Linked DNA regions of Homo sapiens: region 1 is linked to region 2. Evidence: promoter capture Hi-C in human tissues and cell types (Jung and others, 2019). All regions are on one chromosome and are shown on one strand. Each heading gives the region's core, a stretch centred on a gene start or on the middle of the fragment in contact. The rest is flanking DNA. Distances are from core to core; before and after follow the strand shown. Region 1 overlaps SZRD1 (SUZ RNA binding domain containing 1). Region 2 holds the start of EPHA2 (EPH receptor A2).

Evidence for each region. The method cuts DNA at HindIII sites, captures the fragments that hold promoters and counts their contacts. A contact is called where the count stands out against the background at its distance.
Region 1: a fragment that was not itself captured here is called in contact with the fragment with the promoter of EPHA2 in region 2 in 1 of the 25 tissues and cell types used here (liver).

Annotation. Positions count from the first base shown.
Region 1 is chr1:16,390,776-16,395,920 of GRCh38, forward strand. It overlaps SZRD1 (SUZ RNA binding domain containing 1), which reads left to right. Exons shown (of 4, transcript NM_001114600.3): 2 at 600-649; 3 at 2,453-2,707; 4 at 4,263-5,145. The coding sequence ends at 4,365. It also overlaps a transcript of SPATA21 not described here. Among named protein-coding and RNA genes, the nearest start is that of SZRD1, 26 kb to the left of the region's middle. RefSeq lists an enhancer at 2,243-3,149. The HindIII fragment of the contact is 6,209 bases long and covers 1-5,145 here.
Region 2 is chr1:16,152,711-16,157,789 of GRCh38, forward strand. EPHA2 (EPH receptor A2) reads right to left here and starts at 3,359. Exons shown (of 17, transcript NM_004431.5): 1 at 3,138-3,359. The coding sequence starts at 3,222. It overlaps EPHA2-AS1 (EPHA2 antisense RNA 1), which reads left to right and starts at 2,505. Exons shown (of 3, transcript NR_187275.1): 1 at 2,505-3,045; 2 at 4,261-4,469. The HindIII fragment of the contact is 22,393 bases long and covers 1-5,079 here.

The DNA of each region.
Region 1 (5,145 bases), core at 1,222-3,721, 240 kb after region 2:
AAAGGAGAGGTAGACATCCAGGCTGGGTTGTGCAGGATCAATGGGAGTTTGCAAGGGGAGGGGACATTGCAGGCAGGTGGAACAGCATGCTGAGTTCTGGGGGCTAGTGATAGCAAAACAGAGACAGAAGGTAAAAGAAGGTATGGGTGAGGCATGCTCAGAAGCTTTGACTAGGTCTGCAAGCAGTTGAAGGGTTTAAAGTAGGGAAGTGACATGATCAGATTTATGTTTAATTTTTTTTCCAACTCTTTATTTCATAAAATAGAGTAAGTGTTCCTAAGTTTAGGTTTAGAAGTTGATATGAGTGGCTCTGTGAAAGACAGATTACAGGTCAGAAAACTGGTTGGAGGCTATGCAAAGAACCCAGCTGAACAATGAGGTTTAGAACTGTCATGGCGGCCATGGGGCTAGAAGGGAGATGGACCTGCAGAGGGTATCAGGTCCCCAAACCCCAAAATCTAGTCCACATTTGTTATGTTGAAGGACACAGTCATGTCCCTGGCTAGAGAAAGGACACTGCCCTTAGCTCCAAAAATAAAGACTAAGTTTTTATTTGAGAGAGATTTTTTCCTCTTTTTATATACATTTTTTTCCTCTAGGAAATAGACAGACGGTTGGAAAAAAAACTGAAGATCACACAAAAAGAGAGGTAAGGCTGCTGTCTGGTCTGAGGGCTCATGCTCTCTGTGGTTTGAGAGCCGGGCAGTCAGTGGTGTTCTCCAGCTGGCCATTAGGATTAGCAGGTCCTAGCAGGTCAGGCTCTGGGGCAGCAAACCCTTCCCTCCAAATTGGAGACCAGGACGTGGTGGCTTGAGGCTTTAGGGTTGAGGCTGGGGTGTTGCACCTGCCTCTGACCTTCGTGGGCTCCCTGTGTGAGGTCATCTGATGCAATGTGAGGAAGTGACAAGTTGGAAGACTTGAGTTTTAGGCCTGGCAGTGCCCCAGTTGCTCTGAGGTCTGGGGCAAGTCATTTCCCAGATCTGGACATCAGTTTCTTTCTCTGTGGCATGAGGAGTGTGGGCAGATGATTTCTCTGGGTCCCCAGTGACTTGGTGGTCTAGGGTATTATGAGGGTATCCTGGAAGAAAACATTCTAGGAAATTCTTGAAAAAACCTTTAAAAATAGCTTTGTTTTCCACCTAGACGACAGAGGAGGGTGTTTCCAGAGTAGGTGAAAGTTGACTTCGGCTTTCTGCTTTTGGGCTTAGGGAACCTGTTGGTTTTCCATAGGTACAAGGGACAGGAAGGAGGATAGGGCCCCTCTGGATTTGCTCACGGGGCTGCACAGTCATTCCCCAGGAAACTCTGGGTGCTCTGCCCGCCCGCTAGTTTTCCTGGCTCCCTGCCTCTTTGATCAGATTGCTGGCTCCTTGTCTGTCTGCTCATCTCAGCAACCACGCTAACCCTGGGTTACAGTCCTCGTTCCATACCATTTGTGTCCTACCCGAGACTTGTTTCCATCCACCCTGGCTCAGTTCCTCCAATCCCGACTCCTCCTGACAGCCAAGGCTCTGGAAGCAGGCTTGTTTGGTTCTGAAGAGAAGCTGGTTGACTGCTCTGGGTAGGGTCCTGGTGGCTGTTGTCGGGTGGTCATTCCTGCCTGGGTTCCTGTCTCCTCCTGTGGCTTTTGTTTCTTTCCCTTCCTGTGTTGTTGTCCCTCTTTGTTTTTTGTCATTCCACCTCTCCCTGTGGACACATCGCCTTGATGTACGCGTCCACCAGCCTTGGACAATGCTTTTCTTTTGAGCATTGCCAAGCACTGTTTCTAGGAGCATCCTTCACTCCAGCCCCGCCGCTGTCCAAAAGACCAGGGAGCCCTGGCAAGGGAGGTTTCTCTGTTCAGAAGCTTTTTGAAGAGGATTCAGTTGTCTGGTGTAGCTTGTCTCTGGGAGGCACAGGTCACTCTCACTAGAAGGTGGCTTGGTAAATCTTGATGCCAGGCAGGGATGGCGTAGTGGGCTCCTTTGTAGTGTTTGTCTGGTTTGAGCATGTGATGGAAGATTTGGCTGAGTGAACACTGCTGACCCCCAAGTTCAAAGGCTCCCACCCCACCAGCCAGTCCTACTCTGATCTGCGTAGAGAAGCTGGGATCTTAACTGACGTCATTCAATTCTGGACATAAACTGTTTTGCTGCAGGGCCAAATAGTGGTTGATGTGGCTGTGGTGAACATGGGGATAGAAGTGCCAGAATGAGGTGGCGTTCCAGCCCCTGTGGCCAGGGGTTAGGGCTGAGGAGCAGTTCCTGTGGCCTGTCAGAGCTGGTCGCAAGCTTACTTTTTTGGGACACCCTTCTTGAGGAGTGGAAATTTTGCTGTCTGGTCAGAGGCCAGAGAATCATGCATGGGTAGAATTAGGGAGGGAGAGGAAAGTGATGAGAGGTGGGTGTGGGACATGGACAGGGCCTCCTTAGTCAGGAGCATGATTTGTGAAGCTGTGTTTGCTCTTTGTCAGCAGGAAATCCAAATCTCCTCCCAAAGTGCCCATTGTGATTCAGGACGATAGCCTTCCCGCGGGGCCCCCTCCACAGATCCGCATCCTCAAGAGGCCCACCAGCAACGGTGTGGTCAGCAGCCCCAACTCCACCAGCAGGCCCACCCTTCCAGTCAAGTCCCTAGCACAGCGAGAGGCCGAGTACGCCGAGGCCCGGAAGCGGATCCTGGGCAGCGCCAGCCCCGAGGAGGAGCAGGAGAAACCCATCCTCGACAGGTGAGTGTGGCTGGCAGGGCCGGCCAGTGATGGCTGTCCCAGTCCACCCGGGAAGAGGAGAGCATCCTGGCTGCGTGTAGAGTAGTGAGAAGCAAGCAGAGTCAGGGTAGGAACCATGCAGCTCCACTTGCTGATCCCAGCCTGCTGGCACTAGTTCACTGTGCCGCATTGGCTGGAGAGGGCTCTGAAAGCCTTGCCAGGGAGGAGGTGGCAGTTTGCTGGCATGCTCCCTCTGCGGTTGGTAGTCACCGGGGGCACTGTTGTGTAGAGAGTGAAGGCACAGATGAGCTTGTGTCAAAATCTGCCTCTTACCTCTTCTTTAGAACGACTTGACCTCTCTGGGCCTTAGTTTTCTCATCTGAAAAAATGGGATAATAATAGTACCAACCTTATCAAGGTGTTGTGCAATTCAGTGAGTAAATGAGCATAGGATGTGGAGAGCCTGGGCTGGCAGAGTGGAAAGTACCCCAGATAAGTGCTTTGATGATATTTTCTGGGTCTCCAGTATGCCCACTGTGATGTTTTTGTGAATTTTCTAAATTCCTTTTTACTCTTAACATTTTTTTCTCTGCAGTATTAAAGGTTGCATCATATAAGTTTATCACTTTCGAATCAAACAGTATTCATTAAGATGGCCTCCTTCTAACTTTGAGGGGCTGCTATGGTTTGGTATTCTGGGACTTGAAGAAAAAATCTGCGTACCTTCTTTCTAGCTCTTCATAATTTTGAAGAGATACCTGTTCTTTTTGTTGTTTCTCCTCTAAGTCTTCACCTTTCCAGGGTGGAAAAATAGTCATATGAGTCAACCGTTAACCGCAGAGTTTGGAGAGGAGTGGGAGGGAAGAATTGGGGGGCGGGGGATGTGTCCCTCTGCTGAGCTCTTGATTCCAGTTCTTTACTTTGGCCTAACACTCTGGAGATTCCAAATGGTTCTGCGGAGCATGTGCTATCCATGGTCACTGCCTCTGGGCAGAGTGGGCCCTCAAGCACTCCCCCTGCCTACAAGTGCATGATGGCAGCTGAGCAGGGGGAAAGGATGCTGTAGCTGCTAGAGGTGAATGTGCACCACCGACCCTGCCTGCTCACAGGGGCCTCTCAACTTGGAGGTGCCCTGAGTCAGCTTCCCAAAGAAGCAGGCTTGCGGAGCCAGAGTGACGTGGGCCCAGCTATATGGACAGTTGATTTTAAGATGGGGGACATCTAGGCCAGGTGCAGTAATCCCAGTACTTTGAGAGGCCGAGGTGGACGGATCACTTGAGGTCAGGAGTTCAAGACCAGCCTGGCCGACATGGTGAAACCCCATCTCTACTAAAATTACAAAAATTAGCTGGGTGTGGTAGCATATGCCTGTAGTCCCAGCTACTCGGTAGGCTGAGGTAGGAGGATCACTTGAACTCAGGAGGTGGGGGTTGCAGTGAGCGGAGATCGTGCCACTGCACTCCAATCTAGGTGACAGAATGAGACTCCGTCTCAAAAATAAATAAAAAATAAAGAAATGATGGGGGACATCTATTATATCCTTCTTCAGGCCTTCCTCTGCTTTTCTTCCTTTCAGGCCAACCAGGATCTCCCAACCCGAAGACAGCAGGCAGCCCAATAATGTGATCAGACAGCCTTTGGGTCCTGATGGGTCTCAAGGCTTCAAACAGCGCAGATAAATGCAGGCAAGAAAAGATGCCGCCGTTGCTGCCGTCACCGCCTCCTGGGTCGTCCGCCACGGGTTGCACTGCCGTGGCAGACAGCTGGACTTGAGCAGAGGGAACGACCTGACTTACTTGCACTGTGATCCCCCTTGCTCCGCCCACTGTGACCTTGAACCCCATGCACTGTGACCTCCCCCCTTCTCCCCCTTCCCACTGTGATTGGCACATCGACAAGGGCTGTCCCAAGTCAATGGAAAGGGAAAGGGTGGGGGTTAGGGGAAGGTTGGGGGGACCCAGCAAGGACTCAGAGAGTCAGACAGTGCCACTTGGCCACTTGGGGTAAAGCCAGTGCCAGCAATAACAGTTTATCATGCTCATTAATTTGGGATTTCAAAACACAAATGAAAACTCACACCCACCCACCCCCAAGTGCATGTCTCCATCACTTAAAAAGTAAGTTCCATTTGAAAATATCCTTTCTTTTTTTTTTCTTCCTATTTTTGTTTGTTTATACAAATATCTGATTTGCAAGAAAAAGTGCATGGGAGGGGTTTTAGTGGTTTAATGAATTTTTAATTAAGAAAGGGTAGTTTGGTAGTCTACTTAAAAATGTTTCTGGGAAATTCACTAGAAACATTAACCAATAGGATTTTGGTGAGCTTAGCTTCTGTATTCCTACTGCCGCCCAGAAAAGGGGCAGGGCTCTGCAGCCGCCAGGACAGACGAGCACCCCATGCCTATACCTCCCTCCCCGAGCTAAGTCCCAGGGCATCTGGGCCTTGCCTGGAGACTGGG
Region 2 (5,079 bases), core at 2,109-4,608:
TGCCCAAGTGAGAGGGCTCACCGCTACCAGGCTTCTGAAGGGTTAACCTGGCATGGAGGGCCCTCCCTTTCCAGCCTAGGCCTGGCTCTAGAAGTAGCACAGGGCTCAATCGGAGAAGAAAAGAAGCCCTCACACAGGAAGGAGCCCCCCCTGCAGGGGTTTCCAACCCCGGCCCCCTCCCAGGGAAATTCCCTCGAACCAACCACCAGGAACAGGAGGCGCCCAGCGCTGGGTCCCTCCGCCCTGACGCGGGCGCGGCTCTTTCCCCAGGTTCTTCCAGGGACAGAGGCTCCCGCTTCTCTGGAAAGGGTGGGAGCCTGGGAGCCCCTCGGCTGACCCAGACGGCTTCCTGGAGAGGCTTAGGCTAAGCAGGGCTTATCCATGAGCTCTCTATCCCCTTACCTTCCCATTTCTGGGGGGAAAAAAAAAAAGCAAAAAACACCTCCTTCTTTGCCATGAGTTCCACCGTAAGTGCCATCTTTGTGGGTCCACATTGCTCCACAGCTTCTTCCACAAATGCAGGACTGCCACCCACTCCCGGTCTCCGGTCCTTCTCCGCAGCCTCCGAGGCTGTGGTTCCCTCCCCGCTTCCCCCATTCCTCTCTAACCAAGACTAGCTAATCCCTAAAGGAAGCAGGGAGGTGGGGACTCTGGGGAAAACATGAAAGAAAAGGGAAAGGGGACAGAGGGCAGACTTGGCCCCGGTAGAACCAGAAACCAAGGACTTCCTGGCACTCTCCAGCCCTCTTCCCATCAGCAGCACCCCAGCTCAGCACCCCCTGCCACCCGCCCAGGCCCCTGCCCAGCTATGCCTGCTTCCCAGGAAAATCTACCATGACACCAACCACAAAGCAGGCAGGGCCTTGGCTCTGGCAGCCAAGAAGCGGGATGCTCAGGTCTGGTCCTCTGTCCAGAAGGCCCTGGTTGGCAAGGGCTCGGGCCTCCCTCAGTTTCCCCATTTGTAAAAATGAGGGCAGATTCAGTGGCTGTTGATGACCTAACAGGAGCCACGTGGGCAACCAAGTATAGCCTAGGGGTGAGGGGGCAAGAAAGAAGTCTGAAGCAGCCTGGGGGTAGGTGAAAAAGGCACCTGTGTCCTCCTGCCTGCCCCCTAAGCCACCCCCAGGCAGACCCACCACATACAGCCTGATTCCCAGGAACTGAAACCAGCAGCTGCCAGCTAGGCCATCATGCCCACCCCCACCTAGGCACACTTCTCTAGGGACTCTTTCACGGGGACTCAGAGTCGAAGCAAAAATGTACCCCCACCCCAGTGCAATACACAAGCCTTTCCCCCTGCATCCCATGGGGTGTGGGGGTGGGGTTTAATCACACAGGCTGGGGAGAGGTGGACACAGGGGACAAGGACAAGGCAGCTCCAGGCTTCCAGGCCAGCTTGGGGACTGCAGCAGCAAAGCACCCGCCTAATCCCCCACCCCCCCATGGGCAGCCGAGGAGAAAGGCCTATAGTGATTCCAGCTGTCTCTCCCCTTCTCTCCAACCACAGTCCCCCAGGAAGGGGGAGGACCAAACGTTGGTGGGGCGGATATTGAGGGTGGCAGAAATCCTTGCCATGAGCTCCTGCAACCAGAAGTCCCGGTTGAGACCCCAACCCGGGCCCTGTCACTCCAGAGACTGAGACAGGATGCCACCCCCAACACCTGCCACTGCCCAACGGCTCCAGATCCGGCCTCTTTTCCTCCCAACACAGAACAGCAAAACCTCCAAACCCAGTTTGGGAGGCAGAAAAAGAAGGAAACAGGCCGGGGGTGGTGGCTCATGCCTGTAATCGCAGCACTTTGGGAGGCCGCGGCGGGTGGATCACCTGAGGTCAGGAGTTCAGAATCAGCCTGGCCAACATGGTGAAACCTCGTCTCCACTAAAAGATGCAAAAATTAGACGCGCCTGGTGGCGGGCACCTGTAATCCCAGCTACTAGGGAGGCTTGAGACAGGAGAATAGCTTGAACCCGGGAGGCAGAGGTTGCAGTGAGCCGAGATTGCGCCATTGCACTCCAGTCTGGGCAACAAGTGCGAAACTCCGTCTCAAAAAAAAAAAAAAAAAAAAAAAAGAAGGAAACTTCTCACCGGCCCAAGTTTCCTCCCGGCTTCCCCCTTGTGGAGCCTGCGGAAACCTCGCTCTGCCCAGGCAGGAGGGGAAGCCTTGCCCTCACTGTTGGAAATTGAAGCTGGCCTGGGCTGGGTGGACAGGAAGGTCTTCGGCCAGGGCAGGAGCCCCCATCCTCGCCCTGACCCTAGCGGAGGGACAACACCCCCACCACGCACCCGCTGCGCCATGAGCAAAGTCTGCGGCCCCTCACTCGGCGCGGCTCCGGGAACACTGGGGCGGGGGTGGGTGATTCAGTCCCCCACCCCCGGGTGTCCTGACTCCCTGGTGGCCCTGGGCTGACAGCTCCACACCTTGGGAGGCCGCACCCCCACCTGCCGCATTTCCTCGTTCTGAGTCACCCTTGCTCAGAACGCTTGACTTTGGGACTTCCTGTCCGCACTCGCGGCCCCTAACCTGCCCCGGGAGCCCGGGAGTGCGGCTTGGGAAGGAGGGAAAGGAGTGTGTGAGCAGGGATTGGCCCGAACCTATCTCCACGCTCTCCCCCGGGACTGGAGGTGAAGGGGGGCGTGGAGAAAATCTCAGGGAACAGGGGCTTCGACAGGGGGCTCCCGCCCGCCCGAGCCCCCTCCCCAAAATGCGAGGCCTGCACAGTATGCCTTCTCCGCAAAACCTCGGCAAGCGGGTTAGTGAATTCAGGTCACTAAGAAGCTGAGCCCGCGGAAAGCTGCCCAAACACCCCCTTCTCTAGGGGACTCCCCACGCCCCCCGCCGGGACGCGTTCCCGAAGTCGCCGCCTGGACTGCAACCGCGTGGCCTGCGCCGCGTCCTCTTCTCCGCAGCCTCCGAGGCCCGTGCGACCAAGCTGAAACCGCTTATTCTCCGGAGCCCCTATGACCCCGGGTGGGGGCCAGGGCTCGCCTCGATCGCAGCCCGTGCGCCCTCCGGACTCCAGTTCGCCGGGACTGGGCGACACCAGGTAGGTTCCAAAGTTGCGCGCGTCAAGGAGCGCCGGGCTCTAGGGGGCACTGGGGCCCGGGGGCCAGGGGTCCAGACGCCGCGCGCACTCACCTTCCTTGCCCTGCGCCGCCGCGGCCGCGGCCAGCGCACAGCCCCACAGCAGGGCGAAGCAGGCGCGGGCTGCCTGGAGCTCCATGCCGCGCTTCTCGCTCTCGGTCCGATCCCCCCGAGCCCGGCTCCCGCACACCCGCACGCCTGCACGCCGGCCTCGGTGTCCGCTCCCGCCCGCCGGCCTGCGCGCAACTTCTGCCCCTCCTGCCCCGAGTCCTTAATGGAAGTTGGGTGAGAACCGACTCCTGTTCATTCATGCCCTGCGTGACGTCACCAACGCCCGCCCTCAGGAATGTCTTTAAAGGGGCCGGGCTGGCACCCGGAGGAGAGGGAGGGGAAGTCCGGAGGGGTTTGGAGGAGGACCTTGGGGCCCTCTGGACTCGCGGGCTCCCCGCAGGCCTTCCAAAGTTTGAGCGTCTCAAAGCGCCAGCGCCCCTACGGATTAGCCCCCAGGGATCTCTGAGCCTGGTATCCTCGGTGGAAACGTTTAATGGTTTTGCGCTGAGCCATACCCATTCTGCCCTTCACCTCTGAGACTGAGCTCAATGCGACTGAGCTCAACGCTGGCCTGAAGGTCTGAGCTGAAATGGATTGGGGGTCCAATAAGCAGTTGCCTCCTAAGCAGCAGGCCTGAGAGAGTGGCCCAGAAATAGACCTGGATGCCCTCCTTCCTAAAACCCTTGAAGAGTATATCAAGCTGCTGATGGTCAAAAAGAGTATCTCTGTTCAGAAGCCTATAAGCCTACTATGATCTGAGAATAGGTTCATTTCCTCTGGGAATGGATCAGACATGCACTATCTTATTTATTAATAATTCTCATCTGGGAGGCAGGGGTCATCATCCCCATGTTACAGAAGAGGAGACTGAGGCTCCAAGAGCAGAAACAACATGCCCAAAGGGTGCACAGCTCACGGGTAGTAGAAGCAGGATTTGAATCCTGGTGGTCTCTGCTTGAACCACTGCTTCTTTTTGGGGAAGGGGGCAAGGGGCACCCCTGGCCCCCGACCCTGGCATGGGTTGATAGGTTTTGACAGTTTGGAGGACACCTGCCTACCACCTGCCCCTTGATAAGGCCTCTTCACAAAACTTCCTCAGACATGAGCTCATCTCCCTTCCTGACAGAAGCGGCTAGTGTGAGTGAAACAAACGGGAAATTTGCTCTGGCCCGCCTGCCCAGCCACCCACGGCTGCCTGTTGGCCAATCACCATTTGACCAGTCCAGGAAGAGCAACTGTGGCAGGCCTGATTTCCTGGGAGGCCCCAGACTCCCTTTGCCTACCTCTTCCTCTCTGACCCCATCCTCGCTTTGATGCCCGGGACCTGCTACCCAGGTACGTGGGTCTTCTCTGCCGGATGTGGACATCTTGGCCTCTCGCCTTGGTGCCTACTCTTGGGAAGCGGGTCCAGACATCTCTCCTGCAGGAAGAGAGGAAGGGTTAATTACAGGCGTTGGGGATAATTAAAGCCTTTGACCAAGAGGATGGGAGGAGAGCCTTGGTCCTCTGAGAGCCTGTGAGTGTGCAAGTGCCTGTGAGAATAAGTGCATGTGTATGAGGGTGTGAGATTTTGTTGAATGTGCATTCGTGTGTATAGACATGAGAGTGTTGATGTATGTATGACTGTGTGTGAGTGTGTGTATGGACATAAGTGTTGTATGTGACTGGGCAGGGTGGCTCAGGCCTGTAATTCCAGCACTTTGGGAGGCCGAGGCAGGCAGATCATTTGAGGTCAGGAGCTCCAGACATGCCTGGCCAACATGGTGAAACCCCGTCTCTACTAAAAATACAAAAAAATTAGCTGGGCGTGGTGCCACTCACCTGTAATCCCATCTACTAAGGAGGCTAAGGCAGGAGAATCACTTGAACCCCAGAGGCAGAGATTGCAGTGAGCCGAGATTGCGCCACTCACTGCACTCCAGCCTGGGCCAGCAAGACTCTGTCT